Linked DNA regions of Homo sapiens: region 2 is linked to region 1. Evidence: promoter capture Hi-C in human tissues and cell types (Jung and others, 2019). All regions are on one chromosome and are shown on one strand. Each heading gives the region's core, a stretch centred on a gene start or on the middle of the fragment in contact. The rest is flanking DNA. Distances are from core to core; before and after follow the strand shown. Region 1 holds the start of CNBD1 (cyclic nucleotide binding domain containing 1). Region 2 overlaps CNGB3 (cyclic nucleotide gated channel subunit beta 3).

Region 1 (2,763 bases), core at 148-2,647:
TTTACACTCTGCTAGTCCAGTTCAGGTATCAGACAGCCACAGTCCTTTTGTATATTACCTGATGAAATGGGGGAGTTCCCTGATTCCCCTCACAGAATGTGTGACAGGGCTGTGGTTTGCCTGCTTGGTTGGTCATCGCTGCTGCTCAAACCCTGTGGGGAGGGGGAGCACACAGACGGACAGGTGCAGGAGCCCAAGTGGGCATTGTGTTGCAGTGTGCCCTTGTAGCCCTACCCTCCATGGATGGCTTGATGTTAACAAGCTCAATGGACCCTCTGCCTTTTCACAAGGGTAGAGGGCCAGTGTGATAGCTTTCTGTATCCTGAATTCTTGCCCAGCATCCCAGAAGTACTGGGTCACACATGGGCTTGAAGGAAGAACTCAGGGTTTTATTGAGTGGTGGAGGTGGCTCTCAGCAGGATGGATGGGGAGCTGGAAGGGGGATGGAGTGGGAAAATGATCTTCCCCTGGAGTTTGGCCGTACAGTGGCTGAACTCCTCTCAGTGTTCAGATGTTCCTCCTTTTCTCACTTTCTCTGCCTGTCATTCTGCCATTCATCTATTTGTCTCATCTCTTCGTCTGCTTCTGGAGCCTGGGATTCAGGGTTTATATGGGTACAGGATAGGGTGTGTTGCAGGCCAAAAGGCAACTTTTTAGGTGCAAAAACAGGAATGCCTGTCCCAATCTAGGGCCGCAGGTCTCCAGGCTTGAGGGTGGGGCCTTTACTGGGGAACTGCCCTCTTCTACCCAGTGTTTCCCTGTCTCCTGTCCGTATCACTCTAACAGTTATGATACCAGGACCCTATTTCTAAAGGCCTTGGAAGATAATACACAGCATCAAAAGATACATTAGTTAGGATTGTAAACCCTAGCCATTGTAACTATCCTTAATTATTGTGAAGCAGCAGAAAATAACAAAAAAACATGTTCCACACTCTAGCAGAATATAGTTAAATGTAAGCTGGGGTGGGTTTATTGGTGTATGATAATTAGAAGGGATGGTTTACCCTATAAATGTGGCCATGAAGAACAGTATAAATATGCTATCTCTGTTACTGCTGGTACAGAAAGGGCCTGTGATACCCAGTGTAAACATTTGGTAGGCAGGAAAAGGGCTCTGGACTATGGAAGACCAAGGAAGTGAATACTTTCATTTCACCTAGACTCATGAGTGCTGTTGATTCTGCTGTATCAGCCTTGTGGGCTACAGTTTCCTTCTTCATTATTGCTACTCTCTATAGCTCATAAAGTCCTCCTTATGATTTCCACTGGACTAAAATGTAGCATAGTTCTTCCTGGTCTAGATGACACTCTTGGAAATGCACAAACAATGGATAAGAACTATGAACAAGAAGATTCCGTAGGATTCAACCTATCAGAGAGGACCTTGAAGTTCTGCTTTATGAGCCTGCAGGCAAAGAGTGATCATTTGCCTCTCAAGCAGCCTCTGGTCATCTATCTGCCTTTGAGCCATCAAGATGCCGATGTCTTCTCTTCCAGCAGCTATTTTGTCTCACATGACAGCTATTAACAATGTGCCTCCTCCTCCACTTCACAGTATACCAAGTGAGTGGGAAATACTTTGATGCTCTTATTCACCTACCATTGTTTTCAGCGGTTCTTACCCCAGCTATGAAAATTGGGGGTATTTCAGGGTTGATAGGGACATTGGGAATCTTATTGACAGTGCTGAAGAATGGAAAGAACATAGATGTGTAAATCCTGCTTGGTCTACTTGAAGTCATTTCAGTACTCTAGGTCTTAAGTATTTTTTCTCTGTAAAATGAGGATCTTTACGAACTCTTAGAGCTTCAGATACATTGAAATATTTCTAAAGATGAAAGAAAACAAAGATTTAGAGAGGCCACATGTTCCACCAGCTATCAGGTTCCTTTTTCTAGCAGATCTTCTACTCCCTACCAAGAGTTGGTCCTACTACGCTTAATGGGATAATTAATACTTAATATTCTCTAGGAGAATTCTCATTTCAATTTGACAAGGAAAAAAAGATAATTCCTACTATTCTGACTGTGAAATTTATTCCTATTTAACTTTTTTATTTTCTAGTCTTACTTATAAGAATTAAGTATAGAACTAGATATTTCAAAGTTTATATAATTGACAGTATTTTCTCATTTTATGTAATTAGTCTAAACCTATAACGTTTTCTTAAGATTGTAAACACTTCTCATGGCCATCGAATTTATAAGATCTATTATTTGAACACCATCATTCTGACTAGCAATATGTATGAGTTCCAGTGTTAGTTAAGATTTTTAAAAAATATCTGGATAACAAAGGTAATACTTGTGATCCTTTTCAACTTCAATAAAGCATTAACTCTTATTTTATTATTCATTGGGCAGATTTATAGTATTGATTTGAAGAAGCTAAGCCATCCATCCTTTTCCCTTCCTGTGAAAGTTAATTTCTCCAAATACATTTTAAAAAATTAATGCTCATAGTCTCCAGGTTAAAAGGTATAACAGGTGGCAGTTGATACTCCTTGAAGGGGTACACTGATGTCTTGAATAGTGTTAGACAAAATCCTTATGTTAAACAAAATTAATTCCATTTGTATTATAGTGAAAATAATCTTGCATCTGGTCAAAGTTTTCTATTTCTACTTGAGTGGAAATAAGAATTAAGTGCAATTTTGCTGAAGAAACACAGCTTCTACTATTCATGTTTTATTTGTGAAAAAGAAAATAAAAGTCACCATAAAATAATATTTTTAAAAAGCCCAGGAAACTCGGTAGCTGG
Region 2 (2,763 bases), core at 173-2,672, 170 kb before region 1:
CCCTTTTTTAAACTCCATCTGTTGCACCTTAGTGTCATATTGGAAATTATAACAGAATTTTTAACTCTTCTTCATTATAATCTTATATAATAATAATTTAGATATAAATTAATTGGCCATAACTTTATAAGTAAACAATAAAATCAAGACTATTGAATGTTGGCCAGGTGCAGTGGCTCATTCCTATAATCCCAGCACTTTGGGAGGCCAAGATGGAGGATTGCTTGAGGTGAGGAGTTTGAGACCAGCCTGGGCAACATAGTGAGACCCCATCTGTCTCTCTCTCTCAAAAATAATACATAAAAAAGACTACTGAATGTTAATATATTGCATATAAGTACCATTTCCAATGAGCCATTTATTGGTACTTATGGATTCTTGCTGAATATGATATATGATGGTGGTTCATGACAATGTCCTGACATCCACAACAATCAATAAAAGGAAAAACTGCTGAAAGCTTTCAAGTTTTTCATTGTCTGAAAACTGCAGTTAGTTTGGATAGAAATTTAATTGCCCAGAATTTCAATCTGATTGTATTAGATCCCTTTTGCCAAATTTATAGGGTTGTCCAAGTATGGTATTTGAAAAATGCTCATAATTTCCAATATCTGCAGGTGGTGAATTCTTTAATCTTTCTTCTTAGCCTCCCTAAGAGGAGAGACAATTGGAATCTAAAATACAGTTTATTTCCTTTCCTACTTTTTTTCTCCTTCCCATCCTCCCTTCCTTTCCTCCCTCTATCATCCAATCTCTCTTTCTTTCTTCTTTTGCTTTCAATCCAAATCAAGCCAAATAAAATGGCAAGACCCCCACAAAATTTTGTTTAACATGTTCAATTTCTTGTTTGAGTAATACAAAGATGCTAAATTGTTATAACTTTTTATTGCAACTTCAAAGAAACGAGACCTAAGCATTTCCAAAACTAATTACTGCAGATTAAGAGCAACATTGTATGAGAAGCAATGTTTTTTTTAAATTGGTTTAATTCAGTTAACTAATGCATACATCTGAAGCTCTTTATGCTTTTTTTCCTTTCTATTTGTCAGTGATAAACTCAGCTCTATCTGAGGCATTTGTGTGACATCTTAGGAATTATTAAAATATATTGCCTGCCATTTTCAATTTTTTTAATACTAAGAACCATTCAATTAAACGTATGGAAATTTACCACTAGGACATTTCCATGAATGAATACTTTCAACTAGTTGCATTTAAGTGATAGTCATGGTAAAAATTCTGGAAATTTTTCTTAGAGTAAGACTACTTTTTCTAATGTTATTTTCTATTTACAAAATGTCTCTTGGTTACAATTAACGAGATTAAATTGTTTAAATTCTACTTCCTTTTCTCCTCACATCTCCAATATCGTCAGGTTATGGTGTGAATCAAAACCAGTGGACTGAACTGAAAGTAGATGGACTGGTAGACCAAGGTGAAGAAGTTTTATTTTTTATTTTTTGAGACAGAGTCTTGCTCTGACACCCAGGCTGGAGTGCAGTGGCATGATCTCGGCTCACTGCAACCTCCATCTCCCGGGTTCAAGCAATTCTCATGCCTCAACCTTGTGAGTAGCTGGGATTATAGACTGTGCCACCACGCTGGCTAATTTTTGTATTTTTGTATTTAGAGACAGAGTTTTGCCATGTTGGCCAGGCTGGTCTTGAGCTCCTGGCCTCAAATGATCTGCCAGCCTCAGCCTCCCAAAGTGCTGGGATTACAGGCGTGAGCCACTGTGCCCGGCTGGGAAGGAATGTTTTTGAATCATTCCCAATCTTAATAGTTTCTGGATAATTATCATGGTCCATATAGTTTAAAATATAAACAATATTGCAAATATTGAATCCTAGCTCCACTAAAATCCCTGCCTCCGCAGCCTAGAACAAATGCTTTAATTTTTTATACTTTGGGAAGGTATGCAAATGAACCTGTTATTTTCTATTTTAACAGCTATGAGCTCATAATTCTTTCAATTAAAATTTATGCACATAGTAACTATCCCTCCCATCTTTTAGATTCAGCTGTTCCTTGGCTTTAGAAAAATCTCTTTGGCAAGCAGACAGGTAGAGAGTATAAACTGGAACTTCAAAATTTTAAGTTTAAATTAGCAAAATATGTCAACATTGGTAATATTACAGAATTTATGGAATTTAATTTCTTTCAGTGTTGAAGTATTTCTTGAAATAAATATGGGGCTCTAACACCAATAATATGCCATAATTTTTGTGAAGTGGGGCACAGAAGACAAGCTTTGGAGGACATCTCATAAATCTTCTAATTCAATTGCACTTAAACAAGAATCCTCTCTACATCATATCTAGATAAATAATTACTCAGTTTTTGAAGACAGGCTCTCTGTGGACTGCTTGAAGTAATTTAAAAGATTAGAAAAACAGAAAGATAACCATGCAATAATGCATTTGTTTATTATTTTTAAAATTCTTTCCCAGTGAAAGCCCGAACAGTGCAATAATATATTTAAAACATAGCTCTCTTACTGGACAATCACTATTATACTATCTCATGGTAGATTTTATTTTGTAAATAATTCAATAGATAACTACTGGGAAATGGTCAATTCCCCTGAAGTATTTTTATACTCATTTGTTACGAATTTTACCATTTAAGACCTTAAAAATTACTTTTAAATGGTCAAAAATAAGTAGTTATTATTGGGGACTTAGAAAATACCAAAAGGTGAAGGAAAAGAAAAATATGAGTTTTAAGTCTACTATTCAAAGGAAGTTATTATTAAAATTTTGG

What was found. Contacts are between HindIII fragments. The study calls those that stand out against the background at their distance.
Region 2: a fragment that was not itself captured here is called in contact with the fragment with the promoter of CNBD1 in region 1 in 1 of the 25 tissues and cell types used here (hippocampus).

Annotation. Positions count from the first base shown.
Region 1 is chr8:86,865,018-86,867,780 of GRCh38, forward strand. It overlaps CNBD1 (cyclic nucleotide binding domain containing 1), which reads left to right and starts at 1,398. Exons shown (of 11, transcript NM_173538.3): 1 at 1,398-1,566. The coding sequence starts at 1,479. The HindIII fragment of the contact is 15,353 bases long and covers 1-2,763 here.
Region 2 is chr8:86,699,195-86,701,957 of GRCh38, forward strand. All of the region lies in intron 3 of CNGB3 (cyclic nucleotide gated channel subunit beta 3), which reads right to left. Among named protein-coding and RNA genes, the nearest start is that of CNGB3, 43 kb to the right of the region's middle. The HindIII fragment of the contact is 3,019 bases long and covers 1-2,763 here.